2 separate regions of the Homo sapiens genome follow, and region 2 is linked to region 1. Evidence: promoter capture Hi-C in 16 types of primary human blood cells and fetal thymus (Javierre and others, 2016). All regions are on one chromosome and are shown on one strand. Each heading gives the region's core, a stretch centred on a gene start or on the middle of the fragment in contact. The rest is flanking DNA. Distances are from core to core; before and after follow the strand shown. Region 1 holds the start of TOM1 (target of myb1 membrane trafficking protein). Region 2 overlaps MIAT (myocardial infarction associated transcript).

Region 1 (2,991 bases), core at 126-2,625:
TATATGTGTGCGTGTGTGTGTGTGTATGTGTATGTGTTTCAAGAGATGGGCTCTCCCTGCGTCGTCCAGGCTGGAGTACAGTGGCGCCATCAGGGCTCACTGCAGCCCTGACCTCCCAGATCCAATAAATCCTCCCAGCTCTGCCTACCGAGTGGCTGGGTGCACAGGCACGCACCACCACGCCCGGCTAATTTCTGTATTTTTTTTTTTTTTTTTTTTTGTAGAGACGGGGTCTCGCCATGTTGCCCAGGCTGGTCTCGAACTCCTGGGCTCAAGCGATCTGCCCGCCTTGGCCTCCCAAAGTGCTGGGATTACAGGCGGGAGCCACCGTGCCCAGCCCAGTGATAATAAATATTACAACTGTTTTTTTTTATATGGCACTGGCCATGTACCAGGCATTGTTCTAAGTATTTCACATTTATTAAGGAATTTAATCTTCACAACAAGCCCACGGAGGTGGGGACCATTATTGCCCGCCAACTACAGGTGAGGAAACCTCGGCCCAGGGAGGCTGCGTCACAGAACTGTGAGTATCCTGTCACCAGGGTGCAGAGAACCACGGACCAGCAGACAGGCGCCAGGTGCCCTGGGCTTGGCTTGGCCCGAGTTCCCGGCTGCCCCACCTACGGAGCACCGAGATGGGCTGACCAGGAGGGTTTGTCCGACCACTGTCTGCTCAGGTTCTGAGAGTCTGTGCGGGTCCATTTGAGGTTGGGTCGAGAAAAGAGCCCAGGCGGACACGTCCTGAGACCCGGGTCTGTGAGGCCTGGCCGCGGGCTGTCCGGCGCTGGGCCCCTCTGGCCAGTTGGCCCCAAGACGCCAAGCCCGGGGCTTCGCGGTCCTGGGAGAAGGGACTTCTAGCCCTTCTCAGGTGTCTGTGTCCGGAGGGCCCGGTGAGCCAGGAAGGAGCTGGCCAGAGCCCAGGCGGCGGGACCCAGCAGAGTGGCCCAGCCACTGCCAACCACGCAGTCCCTTTAACCACGAAAACTTTCTCCCTCGATTGGGGACCCCAGCAGACGCACATTGGCTGCGCCGTGGGCATCCGGACCCACCCTCTCTCCTTACCTACTGGCTGTCATATACATCTATCACAAGCCAAGGCTTCCTAATGGCCCAAGTTCTTGTCAATCAAGAGTGGGAGGAAAGCTGGGCGGAGCCAGGTCGGAGAGCTACACGCCAGCCTCCTTGCCCTCCCTGCCTCCGTGACTAGGCACCCGGAGGCTTCCCAGGGGACCGAAGCTGGGTGCGGAGCACCGGGGCGGAGCTGTGGGGGGCTCCAGGGACTCACCGATGCGCTGTCCCACTGGAGAGCTGAACGGGTTCCCCAGGAGAAAGTCCATTGCTGCTACCGCCGCTGCCACCAACCCCGGGAATCAGCTGACAGCAACCGCCAGCGCCACCGACCCGTCACGTGACGCACTCGGAGGCCGGCGAGGAGGCGTGGGCGGGGCGGTGGCACCGCGAAGCTCGACCACAAGCCCCGCCCTGAGACGCCAGGGTCCCGCCCCCGAGGCGGAGGGCGATGACCTCACTGCGGCTTGCTCGGCGGCGGCGGGCGTCACACACGATGTAGGGTCTGGGGTCGGGGCCCGGGAAGCGCGGTCCTCTTTAAGCCACGCCCCTGACCTTTTAGGGCGAGGTCTAAAGGACCCTTTACACATTTGGGAAACTGGGTCGTAGACCAGGGAAGTGACTTGGGTGAGTTACACAGAAGCCGAGACTCTTAGGGTCATAGCCCTTAGTCCTTGGGACCTCACTGTGACTGCACACCTACCCTGGGTGACAGCCTCTCTGGGCTGTTGTCTCCTTGTCCCGGTAAGACTCTTCCTGTTTGATGTCAAGGTCTCCCCGCTCCAAGATGCACCCTGCTCGCAGCCCAAATTATCTTACCTTAAATCAGAGGCAAGGGCAAGGGGTTTGTCATCTGTTGAGACTGAGAGGCAATTTAATGAATTGCAGCGCAATTCCCTCTAGCGCCCAGGATGGCAAAAAGCACAGATGTAGTCACGAGTGGGGCTTTAATACCCGTCTCTGCCATAAATTTACTGTGTGAGCCAAACATAGCTCCCATTTTCTCTAGATACTGGAATTAGATCAAGGACTCGTAACCATTTTTAAAAAATATTTTATTTAGGTCACAGTCTCCTTTGAGAATTTGACAAAAGCCATGAGCCTTTCTGAAGAAAAAAGGCAGCGATACAATTTTGCTTATAACCTCAGGGAGTTTCTGGGGTCCCTGAAGTACAACCGTGGACCCCAAGCTAAGAATCTCAAAGGCCTTTCCCAGCGTTGTGATTCTAATCTCTTCAGCCTTCCTGGCTGTGTGTGGTGTGTCTGCTGACACCTACACACTAGATACCTATCTATGGGTTATGACCTTTTCTTCTGGCATGTACTCCAAAAATACAATAACCATGGCCTTAGTAGTCTGGCTACTGTGGGTGCTTAAGTACTTATTGTGATGTTTGTGGTTTTTAAATCTGAAAGGCTAGTAAATTGACTGCACAAATTTTGGATGACAGAAAACCTAAATTAAGCAAGGTGTGGTGGCTCACGCCTGTAATCCCAACATTTTGGGAGGCTGAGGCAGGTGGATCACCTGAGGTCAGGCATTCAAAACAAGCCTAGCCAACATGGTAAAATGCCGTCTCTACTAAAAATACAAAAATTAGCCAGGTGTGGTGGTACACGCCTGTAGTCCCAGCTACTTGGGAGGCTGAGGCATGAGAATTGCTTGGACCCAGGGGGGCAGAGATTGCAGTGAGCTGAGATCGTGCCACTGCACTCCAGCCTGGGTGACAGAGTAAGGCTGTGTCTTAAAAAAAAAAACAAACCTAAATTAGAACTTAATCACCTCTGTAGATTCACTTGTTTGAGCAGCCATGGGGTCCGATGTCTTTACTGTACAATATAAAAACTGCTTTGAAGTGTTTCCACAACACTCATGAGACCTGTTCACAAATGCCTTTGCCCCCACGAGTCTGGATGTCC
Region 2 (2,892 bases), core at 349-2,848, 8.6 Mb after region 1:
AGGGCTGGATCCTGTTACACTCTGACAGACACACGCACACCCGCATCTCTCCGCAAAAGATCTGACAACCGTGCTTAGTAGACATCTCTTCCATCACCGACTGTCAGGCCTCTAGTTTCTCCAACTATTGGCCTGCCCTCCCACCATTAGAAAAAAAAAAAACGCATCAAGCTGGCCTGGCTCCTGGAACCAAGTTGAGACTCCCCCACGCCCACCCGGTCTGCTTCCTTTTCAGCCAATGCTACAAAGCACCTAAGTGTACCCTAATTATGCCATCTTCTATCACTGCTGTACTTTTCCCATAGAAACCCCAGCCTAGCATCTCCCACAGTTCTAAACGATGTTCCATGAGAAAAAGATTCTACGGCCATAAAAGTCAAGGAACACTTCATCCTATGCCCTGTCCCTGAGTATTTGAAATTGCCATTAGCATTTTAAAGGTTCTGATAAGTCCTGCACTACTTCAGTAGTGCAGCGGAATTTGAATTAGAACCTGCTTTTTTTTTTTTTTTTTTTTTTTTAAGGAGCAATGACATTTCCTAGAAGTTACTTTAAGAATTTCCCTAGAGGGTCGGGTATCATCTCAGCCAGATCTTTCTCATCCTTCAAGGCCCTGTTTGGTACAGCTTGCTAGGAAGCTGTTCCAGACTGCAGCAGCCCTCTCTGGGGTCTCTCTACCACTTCCCAGGCACTCAGAACTTGTGCCTCAGTAGACTGTTTTGTGGCACTGTCCCATTCTCTGATTCTCCATGTGAGCTGGTTTTATCCCATCCAGCATGGCTGTGAAATCCTAAAGGTTCAAACCCCAGCCACTCTTCACCTATATTTCCCCCAAATGGCTAGCACGGGAAAGGGCCCAAAGTAGGTGCTCAGTGCTGATGAGAGAGTAGAATTTAAATACCCCAGGAAGCATTGTGAGTTACTACGGAGGCCATGAAATGCTGCCACCTCCCCAAGCTGATTAAAGAGTGATACTAGGAAAATAGGTAGGGAAGGGCTAATCAGAAATGCCTCTGGTTCAGAAGATGCTGAGTTTTAAAGTCCAGAGAGCCAAAAAAAAAAAAAAATAGATAAACCCTAAGTCTATACTCCCAGATGGATGGGAGCATTTGCTGAGCACCTACTGGGAGTCAGGCACTGTGCTAGGCACACAATCTCACTGAATTCTCCCTGCACCTGACAGGCAAGCACATTCCTTCCATTTCACAGAGCATCGGAGGCTCAGAGGTGAAGTAACTTGCCCAGGGTTGTAGCCCAGGCCCTTCTCAGGACACGGCTCTCCCAGGGCCTCCGCCTCCCTGCACTGAGCCCTGCCAGTTCCATATGTCCTCCGAAGCACTCCTGAGCCACCCCAGCATGGTACCTGCCACTCTCCGTGTCTGCTTCCCATACCTCTCTGCTCCTCCTCCCCATCCCTGGGTGGGGGCGGGAATTCTGAAGGGGAGAAGGCTCTGACTTTCCATGTTTGCGGTGACCACCCTGTTAAGAACTGAATGGTGTCCCCTCCCCCAAATGCATATGTTGAAGCAGTAGCCTGCTATGTGACTGTTTTTGGAGATGGGACCTTTAAGGGGTTAAGGTTAAATGAGGTCATAGGTTTAAGCCCTAATATGGTGATATTAGTGTCTTTATAAGAAGAGGAGGAGACACCAGAGCCTGCTCATGCTCTCTGTCCCTCTCCACAGAGAAAAGGCCATGTGAGGACATAGTGAGAAGGTGCCACCTGCAAGCCAAGGAGAGAGGCCTCACCAGAAACCAAGTCTTAACACCTTGATCTGGACTTTCCAGCCTCCAGAACTGGCAGAAAATAAATTCCTGATGTTTAAGCCATCCAGTCTGGCATGGTGCTGTGGCAGCCCAAGCTGATGAATAGTACACACCACTCCGCATTCTGGGAAAAAGGACATCTGGCTTTTAAACTTGCCTAAGGGAGGCCACAAGCTGCTCTCTTGCAAACGCTGGGACTGTCTCCTCTGGAGGGAGCTGGAATTGCAGATTGTGGGGCCTGTCCTGCCACCTTCTGTTCCCCAAGAACAGAATCCAGGAGCAGTGCAACTAGAAGCAGCGATCTGATTGGAGAAGAGTGTCCTGAGACTGGGCTAAGGTGACCCCTTAAGCCTTTGGGTAAGACTGGTTCCCTTTGGATGGCAGGAAAAAAAACCCAGGGCCACCTGTCTCTTTCTAGTGAATTTCCCTAGCCTAAATCTTATCTCTTAAAGACCCTCTCTTTTCAGGATGGTGCACTCTCAGCCCCTCTGGCTGCCCCTCCCAGAGTTCAACAGCACAGGGGGAAGGCTCCAGCTCCTCCCAGATCCTGACTGTCTCCTCTTTGTAACCATCAGGGAGAGGAAAAGCATGGAAAAGCCCCACCAAGGAAGTCCCCCACAAAATGACAATTACGCACTGAGCAAATGGAGACAAAGGACTCCAGCCAGCGGCACCCGAGGAGCTGCATCTGCCCTCTGCCTGACAGCCCCTCCCCGACTCCCATCCTTGTTCCTGTCCCCATCCTGTAGGGTCCTTTGAGACCCAGCCTTGGGGAAAGTGTGGTCAGTGGGGACTTGGCCCAGGCCAGGCTCTGTCTGGTCACCGGCAGAAACGCGAGGAGGAATCAAGTTCACATGGGGCAGGAAAGGGCCCCCAGACCCAGACAATAGGGCCCAGCAGGCAGGGCCCGAGCAGGTGAGGAGGGAGTAGTGGGCTGCCAGGCCTCCCTCATACCCCTGGAGCTGTCCTCCAGAGCCAGATCAGTCATCTGCTGAGCATCAACCAGGAAGAGTTCCTATCCATGGGAGGCTCCATCCCAACAGGTGTGAAGAGGATGAGATCTTCAGGGAGTCACCCAGCGGGCTAGAAAACCACCGGAGTCTGACCGCTAAGTCACTGTGGCCA

Evidence for each region. Contacts are between HindIII fragments. The CHiCAGO score rates a contact against its expected background, and 5 or more counts as called.
Region 2: a contact is called between a fragment that was not itself captured here and the fragment with the promoter of TOM1 in region 1, in 1 of 17 cell types (neutrophils). The highest score is 6.3, in neutrophils.

The regions. Positions count from the first base shown.
Region 1 is chr22:35,298,278-35,301,268 of GRCh38, reverse strand. It overlaps TOM1 (target of myb1 membrane trafficking protein), which reads right to left and starts at 1,375. Exons shown (of 15, transcript NM_005488.3): 1 at 1,289-1,375. The coding sequence starts at 1,340. RefSeq lists enhancers at 1-231, 642-801, 755-1,277, 1,202-1,351, 1,278-1,800. The HindIII fragment of the contact is 3,434 bases long and covers 1-2,991 here.
Region 2 is chr22:26,668,232-26,671,123 of GRCh38, reverse strand. It overlaps MIAT (myocardial infarction associated transcript), which reads right to left. Exons shown (of 5, transcript NR_033320.3): 5 at 1-2,892. Among named protein-coding and RNA genes, the nearest start is that of MIATNB, 3.2 kb to the left of the region's middle. RefSeq lists enhancers at 1,965-2,547, 2,548-2,892. The HindIII fragment of the contact is 9,187 bases long and covers 1-2,892 here.